Linked DNA regions of Homo sapiens: region 1 is linked to region 2. Evidence: promoter capture Hi-C in 16 types of primary human blood cells and fetal thymus (Javierre and others, 2016). All regions are on one chromosome and are shown on one strand. The core of a region is centred on a gene start or on the middle of the fragment in contact, and the rest is flanking DNA. Distances in the headings are between cores, read along the strand shown.

Region 1 (4,160 bases), core at 728-3,227, 2.3 Mb before region 2:
ATAAGAGGCAGGGTTTCACTGTCTTGGCCAGGCTGGTCTTGAACTCCAGACCTCGTGATCCACCCGCCTTGGCCTCCCAAAGTGCTGGGATTACAGGTGTGAGCCACTGCACCCAGCCTGAAGAGACTCAAGGTCTAAGGAAGTTTTCCAGGAGTGGGTGATGTAGCAAATAAGGTAAATCATTCCCCCTCCCACTAGTTTTCCAAGTTTCTTTCAAAACCTAGCAGGCAGTTCACTATTCTTTCCTTATCTACCACTTTGGGTAGAATTGACAATTCCCTTCTTTGTCCTCCTAATGAATGTGTTATGTCCTATCCTAGCACCAATCATGTTTAAGTGTGTATCCCAAACATTTGGGACATTAGGCTCACCATTACAGGGGAGGAAACCCTCTTAGGTTCTTCAGCTGGTCTATAAACTAAATTGATACCAGTCAGGTTAACAGGAGAAAAAGTTTTAATTACGTATGTATGCACAAGAGTCCCACAAAATATGAGACTCAAAGAAGGGCCAGATGTTTGACACTTATATTACATCCTGACCTCAAAAAGGAAGTGGGGCCCGGCATGGTGGCACGGACCTGTAATCCCAGCTACTCAGGAGTCTGAGGCAGGAGGATCCTTGAGCTCAGGAGTTGGACGCCAGCCTGGGCAACACAGCAAGGCCAGTCTCTTCAAAACAAAAGTGGGGTTTGGGGCTTCCAGGAGTGGTGGAGACAAGTTAAGAGAGGATAAGAGGAAAAAATGTCTAAGGTGAATAAAGGTTGACTTTTATGCAGATAAAAGTATCTCAGATGATACAAGTTGACTAGCAGCAGCTCTCTTTCTGGTAAGATTCCTTTAATTACGAAAATTTCCTTTAGAAATGTAAATTTCTCTTTACAAAGGAAGAGTTATTCTTTATTTTAGGCAGTAGTGGGATAAGTGAAGCATTTTCCTGTGTTGGCTGGATCTTAATTTATTTTGCTAAAAGACATCAATATGCCAGAGTGGCGTATTTTGGGGTGGCATATTCTGGACTCCTTCAGTTATAATTTGGGGTAGTGTGTCCTGAGCCCCAACACAATGAAATCAATCAACGTTCACCCTAACTAAAGGGGCTTTCTTAAACATTCTAGAACCTCACATCATGCATAGACCATAAAAAATCCTTTACAATTCAACCCAAAGGATCGTAAACGCGGCTTCCTCCAGGCACTTTTAATTGTCCTTAGACAGATGGCCAAAGCCTGGTTATGGGAACCGCATATGCTAAGAGAAAGCTGACTACAGCGCCAAGAAAATGATGATTGGCTGCTGGGGCTCAGAAGTTGCATGTTCTCCTCTGGCCAAGGCAGGCTCTAGGAAACTGCTGAAGGTTCAGTTTTTGAAATACGGTTTTTGCATCGTAAAGAAAAAAGATCAACCTATCAGGAAGAACCGAGCACATCCAATCACCAATCAAGAGCGGGAAAGAAGCCAAAGCCTGGGGATACCCACGCACCAACGAGGACGTCATTCTCCAGCCCCCGCCAATGAGCAGCGGGACGGGGGGCGGGGCAATAGGCGGACCCACTGCCCTAGAAAAGAAACAAGCTGCGGTACAACTGTCCTCACCAGCCCTCGCCTCCCGAGTCACTGCAGCCAACCCTTCAGCAAGGTGCTGATTTAATGCTTTCCATACTCTCTGCGTGGGGCTAGTTACAGTGAAGTATCCCCTTCCCACTAGAGTAAGGCACTTCTTTCCAGTGTCTCCCCGAGAACCGCAGAAAGCACACTGGAACTTCGAGCTTTCTACCTTCACAGGAACCGGGAGCCGTGCGCTACCTGAGGGGGAGGGGCGGCCCTGGTACGCAGGCGCGCATGCTTTGTGGGGGCGAGGCTGTGGTGGCCCGAGGTAACCTGGGAGCTGTATTTCTTACGCCGGCAAAACCGCCCAGGCCGCTGAGGCCTTCGCGACTTCATTTCCCAGGAGCCTCCGCGACCATGGGGCGGGCCAGTGAGTTCGCTAATGAGCTCGAGGAAGCCACGGCGCGGCCCACCAGGTTCCAAAACAAGGAAATGAAGGAGGGAGGCGGGACTGGGGGTGCCTGCGGGAGCCGCCGCCGCCGTCGCGGAGGAGGAGGAGGAAGAGGTGGAGGAGGTGGCTGCTGTGGCCGCCGAGGAGTCCCTTGCTGAAGGCGGACCGCGGAGCGGCGGGCGGCGGGCGGCGCGCGCGCGCGCGCGAGAGGCGGCTGTTGGAGAAGTGGAGCGGCGGTCGCGGGGGGAGGAGGAGGAGGGACTGAGCGGCGGCGGCCCCCGCGTCCCGTGCCTCTATGGGGGAAGCAGACAATGGATTATGATTTCAAGGCGAAGCTGGCGGCGGAGCGGGAGCGGGTGGAGGATTTGTTTGAGTACGAAGGGTGCAAAGTGGGACGCGGCACCTACGGTCACGTCTACAAGGCGAGGCGGAAAGATGGGTAAGAGCAGGGGCGGGAGGAGTAGGCTCGCTCGGGTCCTCGCCCTGCCCGCGACCTGGCGGGATGGGTGGGTCGGATCCCAGTCGGGCCGTGCCCGAGGGGCGAGGCGGAGGGGGTCGCGGGGTTGCGTCCGGACACCGACTCCGAGGGGCGCCCGTTCCGCCCGCCTCCCCCGCGCGGCCCCGTCGCGTACCTCGAACTCCCGCGGCGCAGCCCGGTCCGAGGCGTCGGTCCCGTCCCAGAGGGGCGCCCTCCGAGTGCTCGGAGACGGCGGGGGGACTCGAGTTGGGACCGCGGTGGAGGAGGAGTTTGTGGGGTCTAGTCTCTTGGGGGAACGCAGCGGGCAGGCAGAGCTCCGCTGCGGAGTTGCCGCTCCGGCCCTGGGTAGTGACGGTCGTTGTGGAACTTCCAATCGGCTGAGCGCCTCGCGGGGGCGGCGGTTTGAAACCTCGCCGGGGAGCCTGTCGGGCGAACGCGGCCTGGGGTCCTCGCCAGCCCCACGGCTCTGACCCGCTGGGCACCGCCGCCCCCAGCAGCGATCTCCGCCCTTCGGGCTGGCCGGCCCGTTGGCTTCTCTATGCAGTCCTCCCATCCCTGTTGTATGCCCGGCGTCCCGGGTTTCTCATTCTCACATTCTGAATTGCGTACCTTCCCCCTTCGAAGGAGACCTGATGGGCTAGCTGCGTTTCGCAAGCGGCAACTTAAGAGTTGGCTGAATTCTCTGCTACCCACCCTTTACCTTGCAGCCCCTTGGGTATCTTGGGTATTATGTCCTCCACTCCATCCTCTGCCAGATGACTGTGGGCTGGGGCTTATGGAGTACCTATATTATCAAGAACGGAATACGAAGTGACAGAGCTGGGCCTGAACCTTTGTTTTCCTAGGAGTTGAGGGAGAACTGTAGGAACACCTTGGGAAGCCTTTACTGGTTGTCCTCTTAAGAAGAGCTGGATAATGTACTGAGAATACCTGTCCTTTCTTGGTCCTGGAGGGCAGACAGCAGCTACAGCAGGACTGGTGGAACCAGCTTCCTGGCAGGAATTACCCTCCCCCAAAGCTAGGGACCCAGGAAGATGCCCTGTCCAGCATAGACTTTAAAGAGAGTCAAACTCTACGGAAGAGGATTGTAACGGACCATTTCTGAATAAAGTGATGATCAGCCACAATGACATTAGTAAAATTTGAAGTGCCGCTTATCTTTGTGCGTGCTGTTATAATTTGATGTGGTTGGTATATGAACTCTAGGACTAAAGTACGTTGTGTGCGTATGCACTAACTTCATAAAACAACTCTATTATAAAGTGTTTTGTCATAAGGTATCGTGAAAATTGCAAAGTGCTATCCAAGTGTAAAGGATTATTATTATTGCAGAATTTTTTTTTTCTTTTGTAACTGAACAGGCCTTAAGGTACTCAGTTGTTTCTCATAATTCCTTTAATTACCAGGTGTCCTTGAATGCTTATCATGGAATGTGAGATACTATAATTAACATATTTTGGTTTTGGAATATCCACTCCACCTGTTATACTAGTGTTCTTGTGGGAATTTTATCAGTTATATTTGGGGAAAGCACATCCAGTTTTCCGTTTGGACATTGTTAATAAATCTGAGGTGGGTTTTTCCCATACTCCTCATGCTAACTTTGTGGTATACTTTTGGTTTTAAAAAATGTATCTTAGTGTTTTTTTTGTTAAAATAGCTTTCTTTTATTAGGGAACTTTTG
Region 2 (4,322 bases), core at 1,106-3,605:
TTTAAAGTATCTAATACAAAGCCTCTCTGATATAAGCCGTATTTAACTTTGCAAGGGTTTTCTAGAAGCAAAATAAAACATTCTCTACATTAAGTTCTTTAACTTTTTCATCTACAGGCTCGTCTCCAGTGCTTCCATTGAATTCTCCACTAAGATTAAACTGTTCTTATTTTTATACCTCCTGAAACCCAGGAAGACAGAGGGCTCCCCAATGACAATGAAGAAAGGGAAGGAGGAAGCAACTACTTCTTTTACATAAAACAAAACAAAAAAAAATCTAAGCTAAATTGCAAATATGGGCAGCTGATAAGAGATGTATATCTCCAATCGCACAGGACTCTTTGGCCTGGTACTGACACACACTGTCTTGGGGGAAGGGGCCAGGGAGGTGCCTAGGAAGAGGAAAGCAGCTGGATATCAGCAGCCCAGCAGGGGCAGAGGAGTTAATCTCTTTGGATACCCAACTGCAGGAAGTCATTACATCATAGGCCTTTCCACACCTCTCTCCCTACCACGTGTCCCGTGCCCCAAGAGGATGATAAGGAACGGTAGAGAGTCTCTCTTCGGGTTCATTTACAGGTAGAAGCCATTACGGCCCGGCCCAGCCCCCAAACCTCCTCCCAAACGCCAGAGTGAATGAAGCGCAGGCCCCGCGTCCCCCACACCAGAGCCCTTCCCTCAAACAGTGCCTGAATCCAGGCCTCGGCGGGAGCAGCGGGTGCAGCCAGTCTGGATTGAGGTGGCCAGACCGGCCGGTTCGAGGCCCCAGAACATTTCAGAAGCAGCTAGTCAGAAGCAGGTTTACTGGAGCGACATCTCCGAGAAGAAAAGGTATCAATATAGGCAAGGAAAGGAAGCCGTCCAGGAAAAGGTTTGCAACCACTGCTTTTTCTAATCGGATCGATGTGCCTGTAGGTGTTAACACCCACAAGCTGAAACTTGGACCCGAAGGTTCTCATTCAGCTAGTGACGACGCAACATGCTCCTGCGACAGACTGGAAACCACACATCCAACCCCTCCTCCAGACACTGCGTCCCAAACACCCCCACACCTCTCACTCCAGCCACAGCGCCCGCACCAGACCCCCACTACGGTAAACTCTACTCCAAAGTTGGCTGCGGACCTACCTCCTCGGTGCTGTCCGGAGAATCCAGCAAATGTACTCCTGTCCGTTCGCCCTTCCCTCGCCGGCGTCCCCTGCCCCCTCTCCTCACCTGGCCATGCCCCAAGCTTCTGGGGAGCCTCATTCACCCCTCCGAGACCGTCCCCAGGTGCCCCGACTCCGGGGATCAAAGATAACCCCCAAAGCCTCGCAGCGGAGGCTCCCCCTGCCAACCCCTTGCCCTGGAGCCCGCAAGCGCACTCCGACGAATCCGAGACGCGTCTCGCGCTGCGCAGGAGGCCCGGCGGGTCCTGCTGCCAGCCCGGGGTGGGTACGCACCTTCCAGCCGGCAGAGCTGTTGCTGTCGCCCTTATCCTTGAAGTAGGGCACGCAACGCACCATCCACTCGTAGATCTGGGACAGAGTGAGCCGTTTGTCCGGGGAGCTCTCGATGGCGCGGGTGATCAGGTCCGCGTAGGACAGGTTTCCCCAGGCGTTCCGCCGCGACGAACATTTCCTCGGCTGCCCGGAGCCCCCAGCCGCCCCCGGCTGCGGCGGTGGCAGCGGTTGCTGAGGCTGCAGCAGCGCCTGTGTACCCCCGCTCAGCCCGCCCGCCGCGGTGGCTGGCCCAGACCCGGGGTCTTGCCCTCCGGGTGCCAGCACCCGGGCCGAGTCCTCAAGGAGCAGCCCGGAGCCCAGCGTGCCGCTCCCGCCGCCGCCGCCGATCGCCATGGCCGAGCCGGCCCGTCCCCCGCCGTCCTCGTCGTCTTCATCGTCCTCCTCCTCGGGGATCATGGAGTCGGCGGCCGTCTCCCCCGAGGGCTTGGCAGGGCTCGCTTGGAGCTCCGGCCTTTGCAGGGGCCACGTACAGGATCGCGGACGGCTCTGGGGCTCGAACTCCGGGTCCAGCTCCACTTCGAGCGGAGAGAGCGGGGCCGGGGAAGCCGGTGCCTCTGCCATCTTCGCCGCCCGCCCGCCCGCGGCTGGGGCTCTCGCGCTCTCCTCTCGCGCCGGGGCGGGGTGCAGCGGGGGAGGGACGTGGACGCCGCGAAGGCTCCGGCTCCCGGGCGCCGCCGCCGCCGCCTGGGGAAGCACCAAAGAAGAGAGAAGGAGAGTTGGTTATCCCGGGCCGGAGCCCCGTCCTCGGCGAGTCCTCGCCCGCTGCCGCCACCTCCCAGTCCTGCCGCGCCCGCCTCCCAGGAACAGGAGGACCTGAAGACGTGCGGCCAGCGAACCTGGCGCAGCAGACACCGCCCCCCGGCCAGGCCGCGATGGAGCCGCGAGCGAATCGACGGCCTCGCGCGGGGCAGCCCCCTCCCCCCGCCGCCCAGCCGCAGGTCCCTCCCGGGCTAGGCGGCGGGGCGGGGAGAAGGGGGAGGGGCGCCCGGGGGAGGGGCGGCCGCGCCTTTAAAGCGGGCAGCGGCCGGAGCTGGCGCAGCCGAGCCGCGGTCAGAGCCCGAGCTCGGGTGTGCGTGCGTTTGTTTATGTTTCGCTCGGGCCCGCTCTAGTGCCTCCCGCGGCGCCGCCGCTCAAGTCTGTGCTGTCTTCGGCTCTTCTCCCCTTTCCTAGCCTGGCCGCCTCCGCGACCCCCCGTCACCCCCCACCCGGTCGAATGGCCCGAGCCCGGGGACTGCGCGGGCAGCTCCCTCTCCCCTCTTCGCCCGCGGGCCAGAGGGCGAACGGGGGTCTGGGCGCAGATGGGCCCTTGTCACTTCCAAAAAATAAAGGAAAGACAGAAAGAAGGGGGAGCAGCAGCCCAGCGGGTGTTCGCAGAGGTTCGAGCCCGGCGGGGACGGCCACTTCGGGGTTTTGTGTGGTTTGCATTCTCGCGGACGTCGTCCCCTCCGCCCCCTTCCCAGTCGGGATCCGGGGGAGGGAGCGAGTCGGAACATAAATCTTCCAACAGGTCGGGAAGCGCCAAGTCTCCCGGGCTGCTAGAAAACCCGGACCAGCACGTTCATCACCTCCTTGCTCCCGCTGCTGCCATCTTGACAGTTTCCCCCTTCCCGAGTCCTTTAAAAACACTAGCGGGCGAGAAGGGGGGCGCGCACACCGCGGCTCAGGGAGGGGAAAGGGAAGCGCCCGGCCCAGCTCGGAAGCAGATCCGGAGTCACCGGGAAGGCGGCCGCCCGCTGCACGGCTCCGGCGCCTACCTCGCTTCCTTCCCTTCAGGGACGCGGCGGGACGACGCACGATCCCGCGCGGGCCCGGGGCACGGCGAGGAGGGGGCGCGCAACCTCGGCGAAGGAGAAGCGCTCGGGCCGTCGCCGCAGCCCGCCCGAGGAACCGCCTGTCAGCTCGCGCGCCGCCACCTTCCACATTCCTCCTCCTCCCTTCCACGAGCAGGGCGGCCGCGGCAGCAGCACAAAGTTATAGACACACGCAGGGCGCCTCAACCTAGGCTGACGGCGGGCGGGTCCCCGCCCAGGGGGAGGGCTGGGCGGCGGGCTGGGCGGCGGGCCGGGCGCGCGGCGGGCGTGCGTGTGTGAGTGCGCGTGTGTGAGCTCGCGCGCGCCTGCGCGGCCCGGCTCCGCGGGGCTGCGGGCGTGGGTGTCCGGGCGCGCGCCGTGGGCCGGGACTCGGCGGGCTCCCGCTGCTGTCCCCGCTGGGCTCCTCCTCCCTCCCGAGAGTCTCAACGACAACAAAGCGCGGCGCTGGCCCGGGAGAGGAGGGAGAAGGGGGGAGAAGGGAGGAGAGGAGGAAGAAGTGGGGAGAGGAGGGAGAAGGGGGAGCGGCAGGAGCGCACAGCCCCCGACGCTCCAAGGAGCGCAGCGGCGTGGCCTCCCTGACTCCGGGCAGGGCGCCTGGTACCAGGGGGTCCCTGGCCTGCGCGTCCGCCCGCCGGGCTCTGGGCCAGCCCCGGTGTCCGGTTCCCTGTTAGAACGCGACACCAGGTAACACCCGAGATAAGATGCTGGCCGCAAGATGGGCAGGGTTATCGCGGTGTGGAAATACTGAACGGCGAAGATGTTGGTGCCTGCACAACTTCGATAAGCTGATGCTCACAGATTCGATCAGGCACCAAAAGGTTTGCACTGAGTCTCTCACCTCGGACGGTGGACCACAGTCGTGTTTCACTTTTCATGGGTTTCATGGCAAACGGGGGAGAGGTGTAACTAACTCCGGAAGAAATGCAAATTTACCCCCGTCCTACATTCAAGAGCAGATTCCGAACAACTGAGAAGGGGAAATAATTTTAATCTAATTTGTAAATGACGA

The links. Contacts are between HindIII fragments. The CHiCAGO score rates a contact against its expected background, and 5 or more counts as called.
Region 1: the fragment with the promoter of CDK19 here is called in contact with the fragment with the promoter of FOXO3 in region 2 in 1 of 17 cell types (non-activated CD4 T cells); the score reaches 6.1 in non-activated CD4 T cells.

Annotation. Positions count from the first base shown.
Region 1 is chr6:110,813,286-110,817,445 of GRCh38, reverse strand. CDK19 (cyclin dependent kinase 19) reads left to right here and starts at 1,977. Exons shown (of 13, transcript NM_015076.5): 1 at 1,977-2,437. The coding sequence starts at 2,310. It also overlaps a transcript of AMD1 not described here. RefSeq lists enhancers at 1,677-1,756, 2,330-2,882, 3,117-3,226 and a silencer at 2,397-2,706. The HindIII fragment of the contact is 5,084 bases long and covers 1-4,160 here.
Region 2 is chr6:108,558,950-108,563,271 of GRCh38, reverse strand. It overlaps FOXO3 (forkhead box O3), which reads right to left and starts at 2,355. Exons shown (of 3, transcript NM_001455.4): 1 at 1,443-2,355. The coding sequence starts at 2,063. RefSeq lists enhancers at 272-566, 1,378-1,878 and silencers at 2,322-2,541, 3,521-3,590, 3,631-3,990. The HindIII fragment of the contact is 5,662 bases long and covers 1,234-4,322 here.